Regions from separate parts of the Homo sapiens genome. Here regions 1 and 3 are each linked to region 2. Evidence: promoter capture Hi-C in 16 types of primary human blood cells and fetal thymus (Javierre and others, 2016). All regions are on one chromosome and are shown on one strand. Each heading gives the region's core, a stretch centred on a gene start or on the middle of the fragment in contact. The rest is flanking DNA. Distances are from core to core; before and after follow the strand shown. Region 1 overlaps GSG1L (GSG1 like). Region 2 holds the start of GSG1L (GSG1 like). Region 3 overlaps GSG1L (GSG1 like).

Evidence for each region. The method cuts DNA at HindIII sites, captures the fragments that hold promoters and counts their contacts. A CHiCAGO score of 5 or more calls a contact.
Region 1: a contact is called between a fragment that was not itself captured here and the fragment with the promoter of GSG1L in region 2, in 1 of 17 cell types (M2 macrophages). The highest score is 5.1, in M2 macrophages.
Region 3: a contact is called between a fragment that was not itself captured here and the fragment with the promoter of GSG1L in region 2, in 4 of 17 cell types (M0 macrophages, M1 macrophages, endothelial precursors and 1 more). The highest score is 7.1, in M0 macrophages.

Annotation. Positions count from the first base shown.
Region 1 is chr16:27,952,149-27,955,742 of GRCh38, forward strand. All of the region lies in intron 2 of GSG1L (GSG1 like), which reads right to left. Among named protein-coding and RNA genes, the nearest start is that of GSG1L, 110 kb to the right of the region's middle. The HindIII fragment of the contact is 3,477 bases long and covers 1-3,303 here.
Region 2 is chr16:28,062,161-28,065,746 of GRCh38, forward strand. It overlaps GSG1L (GSG1 like), which reads right to left and starts at 1,554. Exons shown (of 7, transcript NM_001109763.2): 1 at 916-1,554. The coding sequence starts at 1,264. The HindIII fragment of the contact is 8,058 bases long and covers 1-3,586 here.
Region 3 is chr16:27,979,775-27,983,642 of GRCh38, forward strand. The region is part of intron 1 of GSG1L (GSG1 like); the gene reads right to left. Among named protein-coding and RNA genes, the nearest start is that of GSG1L, 82 kb to the right of the region's middle. The HindIII fragment of the contact is 1,249 bases long and covers 1,684-2,932 here.

The sequences.
Region 1 (3,594 bases), core at 315-2,814, 110 kb before region 2:
CCACTATCTATAACCTGGCCCCTATTCATTCACTCATTCACCCATTCATTTATTCAACAAACCTTTACTAAATTCTTGCTCTGTACAGCCCCGTCGGGCACACAGGCGCCACAAAGACAAGATGCAGTGCTTGTGTTGAGGGAGTATCCAGCCTGCTGGAGGAGGTCACCACAACACAGCGGGATCAGTGCTCAGAGGACCAGTCTCTGTAAGTAGGTTCCTCTGGGGGTTTAGGGATAGCTTTTCACAAAAGGTCATTTCTAAGCTGGGTTTTGAAGGATGAATATAAGTTTGCAAAGCAAACGAGGTGGTAAAGGCAAGTCAGGCAGAGGGAACAGCACATGCAAAGGCACAGAGGCATGAGAGGTGATGGATAGTTTGGGGGAAATGGATGTGTGCAGAGCATCAGGACTGGAGCACAGGATTCACATAAGGGACTGTAGGAGGCAGGGATTGAAAAGGCAGACAAGAACTAGACCGTGCTGGGCCATAAATGCCAGGTTAAAATGCCCTGTGTATGTTTGAGAGCCATGCAAAGGTTTTCAGCAGGGGCCTGATGTAACTGGATTTTCATTTTAGAAAGATAATTTGAAATTCAGCATAGGAAACACTTTTCTTTCCTTTTTAGCAAAGTATACAACACGCACACAGAAAACTGCATATATCCTAAGCATGCAGCTTGGTGAACTTCCTTTAAACTGAACATATACACATAATTAGCACTCAGATCAAGAAACATAATGCTGCCAGCTGCCAAGCCCTCCGCAAGTTCCCTTTCAGTTACACCTTCTCTGCAAGGGCAACCGCTGACCCAACTTCTAACAATACAGATAGGGCTTCTGCATTTTCCGGTTTTGCAGGAATGCAATCATATGGAATGTATTCTTTTGAATGCAGCTTCTTTTACCTAACATCCATGTTGTGAGCAGTCATATTTGTTTTTTTCTTTTCTTTTTCTTTTAGAAACAGAGTCTCACTATGTCATCCAGCCTGGATTGCAGCATGATTACAGCTCACTGCAACCTCTACCTCCTGGGCTCAAGTGATCCTCCTGCCTCAACCTCACAAGTAGCTGGGAGTACAGGTGCGTGCCACCACACTGGGCTAATTTATAAATTTTTCATAGAGATGGGGTCTTGCTGTTTTGCCCAGCCTGGTCTCAAATTTCTGGCTTCAAGCGATCTTCCCACCTTGGCCTCCCAAAGCACTAGGATTACAGGTATGAGCCACCATGCCTGGCTGTACATTGTTCATTTTCGTTGCTCTATAGTTTTCCATTAGGTGTGTTGATGAGCATTGAGGAATGGATTTTAAGCAGCGCAGACTGGAGTCTGGGAGGCCAACTGAGAGATTATTGTCATGGCAGGAGAGATGTGATGAGAAGCAGAAAGGGGCTGTGGCAGTGGAGATAGAGAAGACGCACCAATGCAAAAGGTATTTAGGAGATAGGCTGGGTGCAATGGCTCATACTTGTAATCCCAGCACTTTGGGAGGCCAAGGTGGGCAGATCACTTGAGGTCAGGAGTTCAAAACAAGCCTGGCCAACATGGTGAAACCTCATCTCTACTAAAAATACAAAAATTAGCCAGGCATGGTGGTGCATGCCTGTAATGCCAGCTGCTCGGAAGGCTGAGGCAGGAGAATTGCTGGTACCCAGGAGGCAGAGGCTGCAGTGAACAGAGATTGCACCACCGCACTCCAGCCTAGGTGACAGAGCAAGACTCCATCTCAAAAAAACAAAGAAACAAAGATATTTATGAAACAAAAGAAACTGAACTTGTCAAATAATTGAATTTGGAAAGAGTTGAGGATGACCTTCTGGTTCCTGGCTTTGGAATCAGAGCAGATAATGGTGAAGACAGGACAATGGACAAAGAAGGGTCAAGTGTTTTCTATTGTGGACCAGCTGAGTTTGCAGTCCCTGGGGGCACTCAGGAGGAAGTGTCCAGGAGGCAGTTGGAGGTGGAATCTAGAGCTCAGGAGAGAGACCTGGGTTTACAAAGTCAAACCTGGGATTGAACATGGGGCTGAACCAAAGGCCACTGCTCTCTTTCAATACCGCCAATCATTACAGTTAAGGAATAAGAAAGTCATAAATCCTCAGAACAAAGAGGATGTGACAAGAGATAACAATAGAAAAAAAAGATGGCAGCAACATTTTAAAAGCTAGAAATTTCATGAATAGTTGGTTAATGACTTAGCAGATAGGAGAAGGCTGGAAGTTGACTACCCGCATGGAGGAAGCCACAGAGGAAACTTCAGAAAATCCTTCAAATAGAGGAACCAGGCCCAGCTGAGCTCCATACTGAAAACCAAGAATTAAGTGAAAGTCTACATGTGTGCCACTGAGATACCTCCCAGGCCCCCCATTTGATTCCCAGAATGCTGATGGCTGAGTTTATTAATACACTGGAGATGGGAGAGTTCCTCTTGCGGGAAACTGATCAGTGCAAGAGAAAAAGCCTCGTGACAGTGCGTATGGGTTCATCAGATGAACTTTTTGTTTTGTTTCATTTTGTTTTTGAGACAGGGTTTTGCCCTGTCACCCAGGCTGGAGTGTGGTGGTACGATCCTAGCTCACTGCAGCCTTGAACTCCCCAGCTCAAGCAATCCTCCCATTTCAGCCTTCTGAGTAGCTAGGACTGCAGGTACACACCACCATGTCCAGTTAATTTTATTTTTAAATTTTTCATAGAAACAGGGGTCTCACTATGTTACCTGGGCTGGTCTGGAACTCCTGGCCTCAAGCAATCCTCCTGCCTCAGCCTCCCAAAGTGCTGGGATCACAGATGTGAGCCATCATGCCTGGCCCAAATGAACTTTTTGGATGAGGAGTTTATAGCTCAGATGATTGGGAAGTCCATTGGCCAATATTCTCCCCATCTCCACTGTATCTTGAGCTTCAAAATAGTAAGTTCGCACCTCACTGTTAAACGTGAACATCAGATGTTTAAGGAAAACAATATAAAAGACAGTTGAAATTAAAATAAGATAGGCAAAAGAACTTGGAAGAAACAGAGACATTAAAGGGTAGAGAAGCAAACTTAAAAAAATTAATATCATTGGAGAAATATGAGAAGATATTGTGTCCATAAAACAAAAGCAGGAGACTATTAAAAAAAAGAACATTCCTATAACAAGAAAAAGCTCTTAAAATTAAAAGTATGACTGTAGAAATGTTAAAAGTAGACTGGCTGATTGAAATATAAAAATTGAATAAATATCTGAGGAATAAATAAAAAGGCAAATAAAAATGAAAATGGAAGATTAAAAAAAAGTGAGAACAGAAAATAAGATATTAAAAGCTTCCAGAGAGGGGAAAAAATCAGATCACACAAAAGAATCAGAATAACATTGAAATTTTCAACAACACTGGAGTCTGGAAGACAAGGGAGCAGCCAATCCTTCCCAAATTTTGTGGGAAAATTATTTCCAACCTAAAATTTTATACCCAGCAAAACATCTAGTCAAGTGTGACAGACAAATAAAAACAACATGAGACATAAAGGGTCTCAACCATGCTGTCTTTCTCAGGAAGTTACTGGAGGATATTTTTCCCCAAAATGAGGAAGTAATCCAGAAAGAAGACTACCT
Region 2 (3,586 bases), core at 304-2,803:
GGCCAGCTCTACCTGCTGTGTGGCACAACCAGCTGTCCGGCAGCTGTCCCCTGGGCCCTGCCACAGCCCGGCTGTCTGCCTCCAAAACACGCACTCCAGCCCAGGCTGCCTCTGGAGGGTAGAGGAGGGGGTCCAGGCAAAGGGGACAGTCTGATCTGCCTTCTGAAAAGTCAGTCCCCCACCGAACCTAATAGGAGCCTTGTGCTAAGCTAAGCCCTCCTGGACTCCTCGACCCGGAGTTTGCCCAGCTGTCCCCAGTTCCCTAGCCTGCCTCTCCCAGGAGGGGGCCAGGATACAGAGGGCTCCCTGGCGTCTGGCAATAGGGGTGCCTCTGGGCGGGTGCGGCTTTCCGGGAGCCCGCGGGACTCCCCCACTCCCCACTCCCGTCTGGGAGGTTCGGCGTGGGTTGGCGATGGGGGTGGAAGGCTCCCGGGTCTGTGGATCTGCGGCAGGAGGGGCGGCTGGTAGCAGGAGTCCCTGCATCACCCCCACCCCCAGGGGCGTTCCGGGGTGGGTGGGGGCATCTAGTGCCCCGCGAAAGGAAGAGGAGGAGGGGGCGAGCGTGGAGATGAGTTCAGGAGCGGAAAGCAGCGCGCGCCCCTCCGACCGGCAGCGGGGGTGGGCGCCTTCCCGGGGCGCGGGAGCGTCCCCAAAGCCGCGGGGCGTCCGCAGCGGGTAGGAGCTCTGCCTTGCACCTCTCCACGGCGGGGCGTCCCGCACGTCCCCCCATGCTGGTCCCCGGCCCCGGAACGGCGCGCGCCCCCTGCCCCGGAACGTCGCCCCTAGCCAGGCGGAGCGCTGGGAGCTGGGCCCAGGCGGCGGGAGGAGGGCGAACGGGTCCGGGGCTCGGGCCTCGATGGCCGCGCCGCCCCGGGGGAGCCGGAGCCGAGCTGGCCGCCGCCCGCGCGCACTCACCAAGCCCGCTGAGCTCCTCCTCGCACGAGTACCAGATGCCGGTGTGGAAATTCCTGAAGAGGAAGCGGTCGTCGCCGGTCTCCCAGCTGTAGAGCGCGCCGCCAGGGGGGCCGTTCCCCGAGGCGGTGGCGGCGGCGGCGGCGGCGGCGGGGGCGGCGGTGCCGTTGGCCGTGGCGTTGGCGCCCGAGTTGGGGCAGTTGGCGCGCCCGCCCTGGCCGCAGCCCGGCTTGGGGACCCGCTGCGTGCCCTGGCACCAGTGCGTGGTGAGGAAAGCGGTGGTGGCGAACAGCAGCGCCAGCAGGTTCAGGGCCACGGCCAGGAGCGCTCGGCCGCGGCGGCTAGTCTTCATGCCGCCCGCGCCGCCGGGACGGGACTGCACCGCCGGGGAGCTCCGCGCGCGAAGTTGGCAGCTGGCGCCCCGCGTCAGCGGCCGCTGCCCGCCGCGCCCCGGGGCTCGGGTGCCTGAGATCGGCGGCGGCGGACGCGGCGCGGGCCCATGCCCCCCCCAACCCCGGGGTGGGGGCGCGGCGCGGGGGGCGTGCGGGGCGGGCTGGCGGGGCGGGCGGCGGTGGAGGAGCGGCTACGGCGCGCCCGGAGCCCGGAGCGCGAGTGCACCTCGGCTAGGAGCCGCTGGCGCCTGGCAGCGGCCACGGCGCAGGGACGCGCGCCCCTCCGTGGGGAGACACCTGCAGGCGGCCGGCGACACTGTTCCGGAGCCCGCCCGCACGGGGAGAGGGGGCCGCCACGCCGGGCGCGGGCGGGGGCCTGGGAGTGGAGGGACGCCCCCGAAAGAAATCCGAGCCAGGGTGAGGGTCTGAGACGCAAGGAGAATCCCAGGCAAGGCGCTCCTGAGAAAAGATCCCCACGGCGGACGTGGGGCAACAAAACCCGCCGGGAGCGGGCATCTCATGAGACCCAGAGAGGCCCTGCCCCAGGAGACAAGGGCAGAGCCTGCTGGGGCTCCCCAAGAGGGACACGGACCAGCAGGACCCTGTCCCAGAAGGGGATCCCCAAAAGGACCCCCGCACCAGACCCTGAGAAAGGAGTTTTTCCAAAGGTTCTAAACAGCAGAGCCTGCAGGGCTTCCCACAGCCAGGGAGCTGCAAGACCCCCTGGATAAGACAACCCATGCTGGACTTGGAGTGGCAGAATCTGTCAGGAGGCGCCCCTCCTGGAGTATTGGGTTATAGGGTTTGAAACGTTTTTCTGTCTCCTGGGTGTCACCTCCAGCATCTGGGAAGAGCTCCCCTCCAAGGATGAAACTGTCATCTGGGCTCCCAACCATGGCATGCAACTGCAGGAAGAGTGGCAACAGGGTACCCCAGACAGCCCACTGCACCCACCTGAGATCCCAAACAGCAGAACCCTAGGAGGGCCCATGCCGGCCACAAAGTTATTGCAGCTACCAGGCAGTGGTGCCCTACAGGGGCTGCCAACCCTGCTCACATGCACACCATGTGAATGTGGGTAGAATCTTCAAGATTCGGGTGGGGGCAGGGTGGCCAAACATACTGACTTTGGGATCAAGCATATCTAGGGCTTGACCAGCTGTGTGGCTTTGAACAGGTCACTTACCCTCTCTGAGCCTCAATTTCCATAACTATAAAAAAGGGAGGACCCCCCCCCCTTCAAGGTATATCACAGTGGGCTGCTGTAATGAGATCATGGCTGCAAAAAGCATTTGGCACACAGTAGACTCAATTAATAATTCACTGTTACTGACATCTGAACCAAGATCAGTTGACCAAACTCAGACAAACCTCTTCAGGCTCTCCTGTGCAACGTGGAAACTGTGTGCAACCCCGTCCCCACCTCTGCTCTAAGATGACCACGCTCCCTGAACTCCCTTCGCGCTGCACAGCACTTACTGCCCAGATGCTCAGGGCGTGCAACAATTAATTGCATGTTGATTATAAGAGCTCATTTGAATTCTGCCCAAGCTGAGAACTGCTCCGACAACCCCCGGCTTGCCGAGTGGCAGGCCTTGCAGAATTCAAGGTTAACCGATTATGAATTGCCTTACTCCTGTGGGTGAGCCGGCACCCACTGTCAGCTGCTGCTAATCTGCCGGGGGGTAGGTGAGAGGAAAACGTTGTGGGCAACGTCCCTGGTAAGAGCAGGCACGAAGGATGGCCAAGGGTCTCCAAACTTGCTTTTAGAGCCCTTTTCTGGCACTGTGCAAGAGATTCTCAACTATTTTGAAAGAGAGGACCTCCATGTGATAATGGTGGCATTGAGAGTATTGGTTGACAGAGAAAATACATCATCGCCAAACAGCTGTAAAGAATCCAGTAGCATCTTTTTTTTTTTTTTTTTTTTGAGATGGAGTCTCACTCTGTCGCCCAGGCTGGAGTGCAGTGGTGCAATCTCAGCTCACTGCAACCTCCGCCTTCTGGGTTCAAGCGATTCTCATACTTCAGCCTCCCGAGTAGCTGGTATTACAGGCGCTTGCCACCACGCCTGGCTATTTTTCATATTTTTAGCAGAGACGGGGTTTCACCGTGTTGGTCAGGCTTGTCTCGAACTCCTGACCTCAAGTGATCTGCCCGCCTCGGCCTCCCAAAGTGCTGGGATTACAGGCATGAGCCACCGCACCCAGCCTCCAGTAGCACTTTTAAACTGGCATGCAGTATTCATCATGAGTGTCTGTGTACCAATGAAAACCAGCCCC
Region 3 (3,868 bases), core at 1,058-3,557, 82 kb before region 2:
AAAGAAAGAAAAAGAAAGAAAGGAAAGAAAGAAAGAAAGAAAAGAAAGAAAGAGAGAGAGAGAGAGAAAGGAAGGAAGGAAAAGAGAAAGAAAGAAAGGAAAGAAAGAAACGAAGGAAGGAAGGAAAAGAGAGAGAGAATTGAAATGGGAGAAAGTGTGTGAAAATGGCTGCCCTGTGCTTGGCTCCATAAATAAGAGCTTTTTAAAAATTCTTTCCCTGGATCCTAAGTTAGAGACACATGTCACTCCTCCCAAGGAGAGCCCGGGCGTCTTCCCAAGCCAGAAGCAGGAGGCTGTAATTCTGCAACTTCAGCCTGAGCAGGTGGGGGGAACCTGGCAGGGCCACAGGCAAAATCAAGGGGGGTGGCCAGAGGCAGATGCCCAATGCTGGCAGAAGGTGTGCAGAGCATTGAGGGTCTGCCAAGTTACCCTTGGCATGGACATTGGGCGCCCAGGTCCTGGTTGGCAGCAGAGATGTGGGCAACGAGACAGGGGGAAGGGGTCACTAAGGAGCCCAGCATCCTTGGCTGAATCCCCAGATCCTGGGTCTGAAGATCGTGACTTAATTCCATACCCCACCAGATGGTGTTGCTGAGGCTTCCATGGAGTCAGGAGGTGGGGAGAGGCGGGGAAGGCAGGGTCAACAGAGAGAGGCAGTAGCAACAGTTTCACAAAGTCAACCAGCCAATAACACGTGCTGACATGCTTTATGCGCCTACCAACGTGTGTTCTAAGTGCTTTACATGCATCAATTGCTAATCTGCACGACAGCCTATGAGGCAGCTCCTATGACCACACCCATTTTACAGATGAAGAAACTGAGGCTGGCTGGGCACGGTGGCTCAGGCCTGTAATCTCAGCACTCTGGGAGGCTGAGGTGAGCAGATCATTTGAGCCCAGCAGTTCGAGACCAGCCTGGCCAACATGGTGAAACCCTGACTCTACTAAAAATACAAAATTAGCCAGGCACGATGGCACATGCCTGTAATTCCAGCTACTCTGGAGGCTGAGGCAGAAGAACCGCTTGAACCTGGGAGGCAGAGGTTGCAGTGAGCTGAGATCACGCACTGCACTCTAGCCTGGGCAATAGAGTGAGATGTCGTCTCAAAAACCAAAAACCAAAAAACAAAAAAAAAAAAAAAAGAAAGAAAGAAAAAAAGAAACTGAGGCAGAGGGAGATTGAGTGAATCACTTGTCTAACTTTACACAGCTAGTGGTGGAGCCAGGATTCCAATCAAGACAGCTTGGCACAGAGCCTTTGATTTGGTCATTCCTCTGTACTACATCTTAGCAGAGCAGGCAGGTCCTAGTAAAATTCATTCCTCCTAAGGAAAGTCCCACACACCCTCCAGAGACCCCACACGTGGCAGGAGAACCTAGCAGCCTTCCAGACGTGCCCAGCGAAGTGGACTCAAATCTGGCTGGTTCAAAGTTTGACCCTGGTTCCGAGACCCAGATTCCACAAGCAGCAAAGCTTTTTGGCAGGTGCATGGTAAATTTTCTTCATAGTTGAGTGCTTTCAACTTGCTGGGCGGGCAGAGAAGAATCAGTCCTGGTCCCCAGCAAATGAGGCCAATGGGGAATGATTTTAACTGGTTGGCAAGGGCAAGAGTTCATACACCTTTGCTGGCCAGATTCAAGGAATTCAGCTGGGGGAAAAAAATGCCAACAGATCTTGTGTGAAGCTTCTCCTCTCACTATCTGGGCTGGCGGCAGAGCCTTGGCAAGCACTTCCTTGGATTCTCCGGAGGCCTCTGCCAGTTCAACTGACGGGGCAGCAGATGGCACACACTTCTCTGCTGATGATATTTTGATTTATTTATCTCTTACAGATGGTACCATGCCTTGATTTCTGGCAGGAGTCCAAAATGCAGGTCAACTTTCTGGGGATAATCGTTTCTACAAATGGATGAAATACTGAAGACTAAAACCCCGCTTGGCATCATGACTGCTACACCGTGGCCTCCAGACATACGTTGCTTGGGCATTTGGGGCATTTTGTATAAATCAAGGGAAGAATTTTGTTCTCAAGAATGTTAAAGCTGAAGAAGCTAAATGCTTATCTAAAATTAGAATTATAGTGATTAAATGTAAGAGATTTAAACTTACAGAGTCCTGAATTCAAGTCTCAGCTCTGCCACATACAAGCTCTGTGACCCAGGGGTCAGACTCTCTGGGTCTTAGTTTCCACATCTGTAAAATGGTTATAATTGTCACCTCTACCACATCAGGTATGGCAGAAACAGCTAGCTATCTACCAAAAGAAGTGATCTTCTGTAGTATGGAGTTATTGCTAAGAAGTAGCTGCCCTGGCCAGGCACCATGGCTCATGCCTGTAATCCCAGCACGCTGGGAGGCTGAGGAGGGAGGATCACTTGAGGCCAGGAATTTGAGACAAGTCTGGGCAACACAGCAAGAGCTTGTCTCTATAAAAAACAAAAAATGAGCCAATGTGGTGACACGCACCTGTAGCCCTAGCAACTCAAAAAGCTGTGGTGGGAGGATTACTTGAGCCCAGGAGTTCAAGGCTGCAGTGAGCTATGATTGTGCCATTGCACTCAGCCCAGCCAGGTACAATATTTCCCAGCATCCCCCGCATCCCAGTGGGGTCATGTGAGCAGTGGGTCACGTGACTAGTTCCTGCCAATATGATGTGTGTGTGCGTGAAGTGAGGCAATTCCTGGGGAGGGCTTTTATGAAATGGGTGTACTCTCTCTTTCCTCTTCCACCTAGATGCAAAGGGCTCTAAGGCTCCATGAAATGGAACAATTTGGAAGTTGCATAGTCCCCTGGGTTAGTCTATTTTGCGTTGCTATAAAGGAATACCTCAGACTGGGTAATTTATAGAGTATGAGGTTTATTTGGCTCGTGGCTCTGCAGGCCATATAAGCATGGTATCAGCATCTGCTCTGCTTCTGGTCAGGCCTCAGGAAGCTTTTACTCATGTTGGAAGGTGAAGGGGGAGTAGGCGTATCACATGGTGAGAGCAGGAGCAAGAGAGAGGAGAGGACCTTCCAGTTTCTTTAACAACCAGATCTTGCATGAACTCATTGTCGTGGGCAGGGCACCAAGTCATTCATAAGGGATCCACGCCCATGACCCAAACACCTCCTACCAGTCCCCACCTCCAACATGGGGGATCACATTTCAACATGAGATTTGTAGGGGACAAATTACCAAACCATATCATCCCAAAACACTATGTAGAGTAGAACTGCCATCCACCAGGACCACCTGTGCTGACATGTTACATGAGCAGGAAACAAACTTCTATTGCTAGCTGGGCACAGTGGCTCACACCTGTAATCCCAGCACTTTGGGAGGACAAGGCAGGAGGATCACTTGAGTCCAGGAGTTTCAGACCAGCTGGGACAACATGTTGAAACCCTGTTTCTACTGAAAATACAAAAATTAGCTGGGCATGGCGGTGCATGCCTGTAGTCCCAGCTACTCAGGAGACTAAGGAAGGAGGATCACTTGAGCCCAGGAGTTTGAGGCTGCAGTGAGCCCGGATCATGTCACTGCACTCCAGCCTGGGTGACAGAGCAAGACTCTGTCTCAAAAAAATAATAATAAAAATAAAAATTAATAAAAGAAAATAAACTTCTACTGTTACTCCATTGACATTTCAGGGCTTATTTGTTACAGCAGCTAGTGCTGCCCTACACATAGGGTAGCTGGAGATAAATGAGGTAATACATGTGAGGCACGTGGTGCAGGACAAGGACTCAGTTTCAGGGAAGCTTGATAAATTAAAGAATTGTGATTTTTGTAATGTCATCCCATATGTTTGGTTTGGTTTAAAGCAAGGCAAATATTTTCCCCTTATCTCAGTCTTATTTCTGCCCTTTTTCTAAATATAGAGATG